4 separate regions of the Homo sapiens genome follow, and all the other regions are linked to region 1. The links are contacts of gene promoters, found by promoter capture Hi-C in blood cells and fetal thymus (Javierre and others, 2016). All regions are on one chromosome and are shown on one strand. Each heading gives the region's core, a stretch centred on a gene start or on the middle of the fragment in contact. The rest is flanking DNA. Distances are from core to core; before and after follow the strand shown.

Region 1 (2,964 bases), core at 436-2,935:
TAAAATTAAGAACATAGATTTGTATGCTTAGAAGGAACTAGAAAAGACATTCTTTATTCTATATAGAAATCCATCCTATTTAATCACTTAGACCCTGCTTGAAAAATGAGTTATAGAGTACCCCCTCCCTCTCTGGGAAACAATTCCATAGTAAGAGAGTTCTGCCTGTTAGAACATACTAATCTAAAATTAATTTGGAGGCCAGGTGCAGTGGCCCATGCCTGTAATTCCAGCACTTTGGGAGGCCAAGGAGGGAGGACCACTTGAACCCAGGAGTTTGAGACTAGCCTGGGCAACATAGTAAGACCTGTCTCTCCCAAAAAAATTTTTTTAAATATTCGGGCATGGTGGTGAATACCTGGGCAGTCCCAGCTACTCAGGAGGCTGAGGTGGGAGGATTGCTTGAGCTCAGGAGCTTGAGGCTGCAATGAGCTGTGATCGCACCACTGCACCCTAGCCTGGGCTACAGAGCGAGATCCTGTCTCAAAAAAATAAAAACATAAAACAAAATTAATTTGAAAATAGCCCACCACCATGCTACGCTTTCCACATGGTTCCATCCAGAAGAGAAGTCTCCTCAATCACATGGCAACCCTGCTAATTCCCATCAATTATTCTCACAGTGAAAGTTATCAATTCCAGAAGAGAAAAATCAGCAACCTCCTCTGTAAAAGCTTTACAGAGACTTTTAGAGCCGAGTAAACAAGAGGGAGCAAAAGTTGAAACACGATGAAAATGCAACTAAAGCAATGCAGGACCTAGGCTGACTCTGGGGGTGACATCGAGGTTCCACATCCCAAAGGCAAGTCTAAATGTTGGGGTCTTCATGGACAGCTCCCAGACCTCTGATGACCCTCATGGTGCCGTTGTCAAAGGTAACATCCCAAATTATTGTAGATCTGTCTTCAGCAGGGATTTTTTTTTTTTTTTTTGAGACAGAGTCTCACTCTGTTGCCCAGGCTGGAGTGCAGTGGTGCGATCTCAGCTCACTGCAACTTCCACCTCCTGGGTTTAAGCGATTCTCCTGACTCAGCCTCCTGAGTAGCTTGGATTACAGGCACCCACCACCACACCCAGCTAGGGAATTTTTTTTTTAATGACATTGGGTAGCATCCCCCTTTGAGTCTTATAAATGATCTCCCTCAAACTTCTGCAGCAAGTGACTTCTTGGGCAAGTCATTTTCCCTGTTGGGCACATATGTAAGAGAGGGATTTGGCTTATAGATTGACATGTGTTCATTATCGTTTATTTCCACAAACCTTCACTGAGAGCATGCTTCGTGCCTTGGGGGCTCAAAAATGAAAGACACGTTCCCTACTCTCAGGAATTTCACAGGCTGGTGCGGGGAGACACACAGATAAGTAGACCATTCAAAAGTAGGTTTATGCTAGAGTGAGAGGGGCTGTGAAGAAGGGCTGAGCCCTAATGAGAGATCGGGGAAAGCTAGGGAAGATGTCCCAGTGTGAATCTTCCCTCTCCATTGCTCCAAACACCTCCTCAAAACCTGTGACTTGTAACCCTCTGCATGCCCTCCCAGTGCCTGGATCAAATGCTCAGCTTATGTGCCACACACTAGACTGATGTTATGCATGGATAAGCTCTTAGATATCCGGCTGGTTCTGTGCCCATCCCTCTGCCCCCACTGCAGAGAGGCCAATAAAACTCTTGTTCAGACTCACACTGCACACAGTATTCTGAACTCCTGGATCTACCACCTCCTGCTTCCCAAGGACCATGAAACTCCTGCTGCTGGCTCTTCCTATGCTTGTGCTCCTACCCCAAGTGATCCCAGGTAATCAGAGGTCAGGGAAGATACAAAAATAGAGGTATAGTGGGTTCTGGCTCATGAAAATTCCAATGTGTCACGGTACTCCCCAACATGGGCAGCTCCACAGTTCCCACACTGGGACTATGCTCCTGGCTGGGGTAAAACCTGGGAGTAGAGCAAGTTATCCTCAATAGACAGGGGCAGTCCCACCATCCAGAGTTGTCCTTGGTTCTATATTCCAAGTTGCCGCCTAAGAAACTAGGGGAAAGCTCGGCTCACATCTGTTCTCTTTCCAGATTGTGCCAGCTTTTGAAAATGATTCCTGCAGCCCACTTTGCTATGTTTTCTTGGCCCTAAAAGTCCTGCTATAGCTATAATGAGGTTCTTTTTGTTTTCTAATATTCTAGAATTTGGTGAACAAGTCAGAAAACACTGGTAGAGCTGTTACACGGAAGACAGAACTGGCTTTTCTTCTTCCTTCTACAGTGAAAATCTAAGCTTTTCATAATCACTGCTTTCTTAAGTATATCTAAAGGCATGACCAGAACTTTGAAATCACTGGTGAAGAGAGCCTGTTTCTCCTTTATGTTTTTCAAGGTGCATTTCAATGTATGATCGAACTTACATAAAAATGAATCTAAATATTTCTGTTTTATAACGAAGTAAGCACACTCCCTGCATGGCTATGCAGCACTCTTGTGTTTTTTTTTTTTTTTTTTTTTGAAGATGGAATCTCAATCTGTCACCCAGGCTGGAGTGCAGTGGCGCAATCTCAGCTCACTGCAACCTCTGCCTCCTGGGTTCAAGCAATTCTCCTGCCTCAGCCTCCCAAGCAGCTGGGATTACAGGCATGCACCATCATGTCCGACTAATTTTTGTATTTTTAGTAGAGATGGGGTTTCACCATGTTGGCAAGGCTGGTCTCAAACTCTTGACCTCGGGTGATCCATCCGCCTCGGTCTCCCAAAGTGCTGGGATTACAGGCATGAGCCACCGCACCCGGCCCTATGCAGCACTCTTCTTTCACTTATTATTTTGTGGCCATCTTTCCATGTCACCATCTAAAGATCTGCCTTATTGTTTGTAAAGTTGTATAGTTCTGCTGTAGGATAAGCCATATAAAGTCATATATAGCCATTTGAGACATTTCTTAATTTTCGAACAAGACATCAATGAATATGCTTGTACAAACATT
Region 2 (2,852 bases), core at 334-2,833, 54 kb after region 1:
CAAACACAGAAGTCAGCCAAAGATGTTTTAATAAAGCCCAGGAATCTACTGACATCAGACTTAAGGCAAGTTTATCTTCATTTTTGTGGCCTCAGACTTTAAAGCACTAATTCTTTATATGCTGTGGTAAATGTGGCTGGTCCTTGGGCTTCAAACAGCACAGTTTACCACTCACGCAGAAAACATAGACCCTTTCATTCTTCAGGCATTCGTCACGGCAGGAGCCACGAAAATTCCAACATGTTTCAATCCTGCCTATTACAAAAAGAAAAAAGAAAGGAGCTGATATCAGTTATGAGGGGAAATGAGTCCTGGACTGAGAAGACTAACAGAGGACCAGACAGAAGAAGGGGGCTGTAGAAGAAGGAGGCATTCCCTCTAGGTAACTAGGGTGGTGGTATTGTCTATCACCATATTGAAACTCAGGAAATATCCAGTGAAACCCATGAGCCCTTTCTAAAGAATCTACTAGAAAAAGAGCTGTAGACAAGCAAATGAGAGGAGCATTGACACAGAACTAAATATTAAATATAAAGATACTTGTAGAACCAAAATGAGGATTTTAAAAGAGGTAGTAAAGTACATAATGGCTATATGTTCTGACAATATAAATAGAGTACAACATAAAAATGAGAGAATAATGGTGAGAACATATGCAGACATCTTAACTAGTTTGAGTAATCATGACATTATGGTAGCATTGATATTATTTTACTAAGACTATTGTATATGTAATGAGAGATCAATCAAATGAGTAAGTCATGGGATATTCTATCGTCCCCTGTGACCTTGACAACCAGAATTCTCAGTATAGAAAAGAAAATACTGATGTAATATAAAAGTTGATTCTGAATTTGAGTTCTGAATTTGAATTGAAAATGCCAATATGAACTCACAAGTATTTTATATTTAAATAGATAAAATAAATAGATGATTGATGGATGGATAGATAGATTGAAATTTTTCCAGCTCTGGTCACTGAGAAAGTCTAGAAACAATAACTAACTAGTAGAAATTAGTATTCCTAGTACCCATGCTATAATCTTAAAATACTATCTCCCAGTAAACTTTTTTTAAAAAACAGGACTTCTTGGAGATATGGTGGATTCCAGTTCTTGGGCAGTAAATTACAAGATGATCTTGAAACATTCTGTCGTACCAGATACTAAGAAAGCACCAAAGATTAATAGGGATATATCTAAAAGACATACGAGCCAAATTAAAGAGACTCCTATTGGCCAAGAATAAGACAATGTATACTTCAATAGCGAAAATAATTGCAATAGATTGAACTCATTGCTTAGAATCATCAGTTCAAAATAAATAATATTTAAGAAAAACTAATGGCTTAACCTCAGAGGCTGATAGAAAACTAATTCATTATCTCTCAAACCAATTAAGCAAAGATAAACTCAAGCATTTATCCTGTCTTCCTCTCTGAACTCTCTAAACCCCAAGGTAACCAAACAGATGAGGGAAAATGCCTCTTTGATAAGGAGTTCAGCTAATAAATGAAGGTTCTTCCCAACATATCTGTACGGCTCACCCCTCACTTCCTTCAAGTCTTCATTTGAATGTCACCTTCTCAGTGAGGCATTCCCTTGACACCCCTTTTTAAGTTGCAAATTCACGTACCCTGATACTTGCTATCCCCTGCTTACCCTGCTCATTTCCTCCCCTAATAGAATCATAAGCTCCAAGAGGATGGAGATTTTGTTTGGTTGGTTGGTTAGTTGGTTGATTCATTGCTCTATCTCCAGCACCTGTGCCTGGCACACGGAATCCACTCAACAATATTTACTGATTGAACGAGTTATTTAAGCAATGACATGTCCACTATCCCCTAAATCCAGCTGCCATCCTGAGAAGAAGAAGGGGGTGAGGTGAAAGTAGAAATGCTGAAAGACTGAACATTTTAAAGCAAAATGAGCTAATCTGAGAGGTTCTTTTAAATCAAAAAAGATGAATACAATTGTCTTCTGAAGTTGTGTACATCCCTGTGCCCTTTCTAACTCCCACTTTTCCTACCAGCAGGATGGGAGTTCCTGGAAACATTCAAATGAATTACAGAAAATTTAAAAAGCTATATTTGTTGTACATCAAAATGTCAGTGTCCTCAATGTTGATCCTTCAACCTAATTTATTATTTTAAATTGAGAAAAGAATAAACTGAAACTCACAGGCACCAAGTAGTTTGCTGGGGGCATCACAGAACTTGCAAATGGTGAGGCAGGTTCTAAACCAGGATCTGGGGACTCTTTCCTCTTCCTCCAGACAATTAATATTTCACACTGCTCCCTGTCAGCCCATCCTCCCAGGCCCTGGTGTGCCCTGACCAAGACTCACTGTCTACTCCCAGTCCCTCCCCTAGAGAGGTCTAGGTTATCTGGAATGACTTGGAGGAAGAGCAGCAGCACAGCCAAAGTTACCAAAAAAGTCTTCATGACTTCAAGTAGCCCACAGAGTAGTCTCGGCTCTGGTGAAGTGGCAGGAAATGGAGGCGAGCTCAGGACTCTCTGCTGCCTCTAATCAGCTGGGAAGTGTGTCACTCACACGTGCCACTATCTGCCCATGGGTACAGTTTGCTCTGGGACAACCTGCCTTTTTTTTTCATGCTCAGTCACCATCCCAACACCCCTGCACCCAGAGTGTGGACCCCACACCCCTGAGCTCGCACGCCTCCCTTTGTCCACCATCATCTTTTAGGGACCAGCAAAAATAAATCATACAACACCCAGAAGGATACTTTTAAAAATGTATGTCAGCCCTTGTTATAATACAGCTTAAAAATCCTCCAAGACTCCACAACTAGAAAAAAAAAATCCACAATCTTTACTATGCCCTGCAAAGCC
Region 3 (3,128 bases), core at 415-2,914, 38 kb after region 1:
AGCTATGGGTCAGCAGGCTAGGAGCTATTTGCAAGGTTTAGATTGTTACCACCTACTGGTCCATCCTGTTCTTCCTAACATGCACACCGGACACACACACACACACACACACACACACGCACACAACCTTTCTTCTTTATTTACTTGTTTCTAAATGTAACTAGGTGGAACTATCAGACAGAAACAGGGTGTTGCCAAGAATGATTTAATAGAACTGCAGGATCCCATGATGTTGAGACTCAAGGTTGGAAGAGAGGTGTCAGACTGCAGAAGTTGATTCCAGGCTTGTATTTGTGTCTGTTAATTTTGGTTTTACAGGTACATACTTGGGATCCACACAGCACTTAGCCTCAGTTTTGCATAATATATAGTATACTTCACTTTCTTTACATGTTGTTCTGCACCTGCCTGACTTGCCCCAACATTTCATGACTGAAAACAAAAGGGAAGAAGAGAATAGAGTCAGTTTTGAAAGAAAGCAGAAAGGTGTGAAAGGAAGAGGCTAAAGCCCAGTAGAGGAGTAGGAGGGAAATGAGGAGGTCTGTGGGGAAGAAGCTCTTACACAGGATCCCCTAAGTTTAAGGGAGATTATAGACCACTACGCTTTCTTCCTTCACTTGTGCCCCCTGTTAGAACCCCCAGAGTCCCCCCAACTCAGTGGCATAGGACCTACTGGATAGCTTCCCCTCCTTGGCCAGCTCCTTGGGAGGGGGAAGAGGACCCCTCTCCCAAGGGTTTTATCTCCCCCATATTATAATGTACCCAGGTGCCCAGTAGCAATTAGCCACCTTTTCTCATTGTTCTTTGGTACCCCCTCTGACCATATCAATGAAAGGTGACAGGAATATTAAATAAACTCATTTAACATCTGTAAGTCTTCTAGGGCACCTTTAAAACTCCCAAGAATATCATACTGCCTTCTTCACAACATCCTGGGACTTTTCTCTGGCCCCAACCAGTCAAGGGAATTAGGAACAGCTATTCCAGGGAACCTACAACCTAAGGTAACCCAGATGATTTGAGGTTGCATTAAAAAGTGGAATCAGAATCCTCAAACAATCAGAAATTTGAGAACCATTTTCCTAGAGGCAACAATGCATCAAAATTCAAATCCTTTCAATGAATGTTTTTGAAAAAGTCCCCATTTTCTCTATACTCCATACCCAAGTCTCTCTCTTTACACCCTATCCCATCCTCAGGTCATCACGTTCAGCTTTTCCAGAGCTAACCAGAGATAAGGTTGGAATGGTCAAGTACTGGGCACTGGGAAGACCATTTGGTACCAGAGAACTCAAACTTCCCCATAACTAGAGAGACTACCTAAAGGCCTCAATGAGCTCTACCAGGCCATTCTCCCAGCCCAACCTGTCAGAGTCCCCAGAGTTCTCTGAACATGCATCAGGTTTCCTGACTCCCATCCCCTTCTGGAGATCCTGTTTACCTGGGGTGACCTGGGCCAGGAGCAGAGTAACAGTCAAAAGCAGAAGAAGGAGCTTCATGAATGATGAATGATCAGGGAGGGATAGGAGGCTTCTCAACTGGTAAAACAGACAGAGGACTCCATTCTGGGCAGTCCAGACTGGTATTTATTGCCTTGAGGAGCATGGCAGAGCCAAGATCAGTGAACCAGAACGGGAACAGTCATTTGAGATCAGACAGGCAGGCAAGGAAGGTATCAACCACACTGCCTGAGGAGGCTGGGAGAGGGGGAAGGGACGTTAACAAAGAGAAGATACGGCCTTGCCTCTGAAGAATTTTATAATACAGCTGGAGAACCAAGAAGGGGAAAAATATTTTCATCTCTAATTTGTTTTTCATTAATGAGAAAAAAAGAGAGAGAAAAAGAGATAAGACAGAAAAGGAGTGATACTTCTCTGCGCCTTGGGTTCTTCCCAGCAACAAGGACATCTTAGGATGTCCCATATGTTGATGATTCATTATAATACCAAATGAAGGGCAGAGCAGGGGAAAATACCTTAATAGCTCCATGGCCATCACCACTGGAAACCAGAATGTCAGTATTCATGGAGTGGAATGAGCAGGAAAGCCATAGCCCTTACTTTTAACAGTACATATTTAATAGGAACAAGTAGCACCCTCATAGGTAGCAAAAGAAAAGCCATTTATTATTGTTGTGGTCTTTTTTTTATTATTACTTATTTTTTTGAGACAGTCTTGTTCTGTCACCCAGGCTGGAGTGCAGTGGCACAATCATAGCTCACTGGAACCTCGAATTCCTGGTCTCAAGCAATTCTCCTGCTTTGGCCTCCCAAAGTGCTAGGATTAAAGGCATGAGCCATCATGCCCAGCTTGGTCTTTCTTATAAGAAATGGTAGATTGCCCCAGCAACTTGGGAGGCCGAGGCAGGCGGATCACAAGTTCAGGAGATCGAGACCATCCTGGCTAACTCAGTGAAACCCCGTCTCTACAAAAAAAAATACAAAAAATTAGCCGGGCGTGGTGGCTGGCCACTGTAGTCCCAGCTATTCAGGAGGCTGAAGCAGGAGACTAGCTTGAATCCGGGAGGCGGAGGTTGCAGTGAGCCGAGATTGTGCCACTGCACTCCAGCCTGGGCAACAGAGCGAGACTCTGTCTCAAAAAAGAAAGAAAGAAATGGTAGATTGTAATCTTGGCCCTACTTCTTCATCCCTACTTGAATTCACACATTTGCCAAGGTCTCATCCTAGGAGAACTCTATTTCATTTTCCCTTCACTTTGGCCTTGGCATGTGATTTGCTTTGGCTAGTGATATGTGGGCAGAAGTGACGGTGTGCCGGTTGTAAGCCTAGGTTTTAAGAGATGATGAATATTTTCATTTGCCCTTCTGTGTCTCTGCCATCACTATGAGAAGAACATGCCCCAGTGGTCCAAGGAGGATGAGAGATACGTGGGGCACAGCTACTCCAGGCGACTCACAGATCTACAGTGAGAAACAGAGCTGCCCCAGGCATTCCAGCCTCAAGCAGGGCAATCTAGCCAAATATAAAGGATTGATGTTTTAAGCCACTGAGTTTTGGAGTGGAACATTACATAGTAATGGCTAACTTATACACAAGGCCAGCAGATAGATCAGGAAAGAGCCAAGTGCTTTTTAGGACAATAATGGTAAGGTCTATCTTTCTTTTCTT
Region 4 (2,965 bases), core at 193-2,692, 42 kb before region 1:
TATTAGCTCCTGAAGCATGGTGGGGTATTGGTCAGCAAAATATAGAGAGAGGCAATTTATCTGAAGTCAACATAACAGAGATACAACATTTAATATATATTCCATCTAGACATTGGAATGGGAAAGTGAGATACTGGCCAGCATCCATAACAAAAGTGGGCTTTCTCTCCTGGTAAAAGAAAATCATTTGTCCTTTCAGAAAATGAGTAACAAAATAGCTAAAGCCCTCGCCTATTAATAATTACTTTAAAGTAAATGAATTAAACTTCCCAATCAAAAAGGGAGAGTATATGAATGGGTTAAAAAAAAAAAAGAGTCAATGATATGCTGTCTACAAGAGACTCACTTTAGATTTGTGGGCACACATAGACTGAAAATGAAGGGATGGAAAAAAAAAATACTCCATGTAAAAGGTAACCAAAAGAAAGCAAGGGTGCAAGGATGGCTATACTTATATCAGACAAAATAGACTTAAAGTCAAAACTATCTCTAGGGACAAAGAAAGTCATTATAATGATAAAAGGGTCTCTAGGGACAAAGAGAGTCATTTATAATGATAAAAGGGTTAATTCAATAGAATGATATAACATTTATAAATATAAACCTACCCAACACCAGAGCACATAATTATATAAACCAAATGTAGACAGATCTGAAGGGAGAAACTGGCAACAATACAATAATAGTAGGAGACTTCAATACCCCACTTTCAAAAATGGATGGAATATACAGACAGAAAAAATCAATAAACAGCTGACTTGAACAATATTATAGACCAAACGGACCTAACAGACATAGAACTTTCTATTCAATAGCAGAGGACTACACATTCTTCTCAAGTACACCTGAAACATTCTCCAGAATAAATCACATGCTAGGTCACAAAACAAGTCTTCAGAAATTTAAGAAGATTGAAATCATATCAACCATCTCTTAAAAAAAATAGGTGGCCGGGCGCGGTGGCTCACGCCTGTAATCCCAGCACTTTGGGAGGCCGAGACGGGCGGATCACGAGGTCAGGAGATCGAGACCATCCTGGCTAACACGGTGAAACCCCGTCTCTACTAAAAATACAAAAATTAGCCAGGCATGGTGGCACGCACCTGTAGTCCCAGCTACACAGGAGGCTGAGGCAGGAGAATGGCGTGAACCCGGGAGGTGGAGCTTGCAGTGAGTCGAGATTGCACCACTGCACTCCAGCCGGGGCGACAGAGCGAAACTCCGTCTCAAAAAAAAAAAAAAAAAAATAGGTATAGGAGGAACTTAACACAATAAAGCCCATACTGAATCTCAACAATGAAAAGACCTCGACACTGAAGGCTCTCAACACTGAAAAAGCCCTTGGCAGACAGCCACAAAGAGATGCTAACATGAAATGAACATGAGGATAACTTCATCAAGCTGCCTGAAACCAGGCTTCAGTTGCTGGTCACCCTACACAAGACCAGAATCCTAAAAAAAGACCAGAACTCCAGCACACTTGAGAGAGTCCTATATTATTCATAATCAATGAATTGAAAAACTAACATAATCAATGAGGATAAACTGGAAGTTTTTTCTCTAAGATCTGGTACAAGGCTAGGAGGCCCACTCTTGCCGTTTCTACCCAATACAGTATTAGAAGTCCTAGTCAGAGCAATTAGACAAGACAAAGAAATAAAAGGCATCCAAATTTAAAAGGAAGAAGTAAAATTATCTCTGTTTCCAGATGACATGATCATATATATAGTAAACCATAAAGACTCAACAAAAAAACCCTGTTAGAACTAAGAAACTAATTCAGTAAAATCGCAGGATAAAAATCAACATACAAAAATCAGTGGCATTTCTATGCACAAACAATCTGAAAAGGAAATTAAGACAACAGTTATATTTACAATGGCAACAAAAAGCATAAAATACTTAAGAATAAGCCTAATCAAAGAGGAGAAAGGCTCGTACAGTGAAAATTATAAAACGTTGCTGAAGGAAATTAAAGAAGGTACAGGTAAATGAAAAGACCTCATGTTCATGGACGGGAAGAATTAATATTGTTAAAATGTTCATACTACCCAAAGTGATCTAGAGATTCAATGCAATCCTTATCAAAATTCCAATGCCATTTTTCACAGAAACAAACAAAAACACTAAAATTCATGTGGAATTACAAAAGACCCCAAAAAGAACAAATCCATCACACTTTCTGTTTTCAAAATATATTACAAATCTACAGTAAATGAAACAGCATGGTACTCACATAAAAACAGACAGATAGACTAACAGAACAGAATAGAGATTCTAGAAACAATTCTACACATTCAGTCACCTAGTCTTCAACAAGGATGCCAAAAACATACCCTTGGGTAATGGGTATTTTCTTCAACCTATAGTGTTGTCACCCTCATAGAGGCAGAGCGTACAATGGTGGTTGCCACGGTGGGGGAAGGGGAAAATGGGGAGATATTTGTCACAGGGTACCAAGTTTCAGTTATGCAAAGTAAGTTCTGAAGATAATATGCAGTATAGCGATTACAGTTAGTAATATATACGTGATATTTGCTAGTACATGGTAAGTGTTCTCACCACAAAAAAAAAGGAAAAAAATAGCAACTATGTGAGGTAATGGATATTTTAATTAGCTTGATTGTGGTGATCAATTCACAATGTATACATATATCAAAACAATTGTACAATGTAAACATATAAATTTTTATTTGTCAATTATACCTGAACAAAGCTAAAAAAAAAAAATTTGTTATCATCCCTCACAAAAAAACCATTAGTCCTTTTGTGTAAGACACAAATAATAATGAAAAGCGTTTTTTAAGAAACCCTTTAAAATAATAAATTGTCCTTCCCTCCTGTTGTGTAAGAGCTATGGAGCACTTATGCATTCAGCCTTGTGCTAAGCACCATAGGAACAAAGAAGAAAGCAAAGAGATGAGAATAAAAATTGAGGGTAGCAGGAAGAGAGGGAAGATGACAA

Evidence for each region. The method cuts DNA at HindIII sites, captures the fragments that hold promoters and counts their contacts. A CHiCAGO score of 5 or more calls a contact.
Region 2: a fragment that was not itself captured here is called in contact with the fragment with the promoter of DEFB118 in region 1 in 2 of 17 cell types (total CD8 T cells and M1 macrophages); the score reaches 5.3 in total CD8 T cells.
Region 3: a contact is called between a fragment that was not itself captured here and the fragment with the promoter of DEFB118 in region 1, in 15 of 17 cell types (naive CD8 T cells, total B cells, naive B cells and 12 more). The highest score is 11.5, in naive CD8 T cells.
Region 4: a fragment that was not itself captured here is called in contact with the fragment with the promoter of DEFB118 in region 1 in 5 of 17 cell types (total B cells, naive CD8 T cells, naive B cells and 2 more); the score reaches 6.0 in total B cells.

Annotation. Positions count from the first base shown.
Region 1 is chr20:31,366,916-31,369,879 of GRCh38, forward strand. It overlaps DEFB118 (defensin beta 118), which reads left to right and starts at 1,686. Exons shown (of 2, transcript NM_054112.3): 1 at 1,686-1,793. The coding sequence starts at 1,736. The HindIII fragment of the contact is 1,593 bases long and covers 673-2,265 here.
Region 2 is chr20:31,421,424-31,424,275 of GRCh38, forward strand. It overlaps the pseudogene DEFB122. Among named protein-coding and RNA genes, the nearest start is that of DEFB121, 17 kb to the left of the region's middle. The HindIII fragment of the contact is 3,840 bases long and covers 1-2,852 here.
Region 3 is chr20:31,404,654-31,407,781 of GRCh38, forward strand. DEFB121 (defensin beta 121) reads right to left here and starts at 1,562. Exons shown (of 2, transcript NM_001011878.3): 1 at 1,442-1,562; 2 at 192-432. The coding sequence starts at 1,499. The coding sequence ends at 260. The HindIII fragment of the contact is 7,039 bases long and covers 1-3,128 here.
Region 4 is chr20:31,325,170-31,328,134 of GRCh38, forward strand. No RefSeq gene overlaps it. Among named protein-coding and RNA genes, the nearest start is that of DEFB116, 18 kb to the left of the region's middle. The HindIII fragment of the contact is 4,460 bases long and covers 1-2,965 here.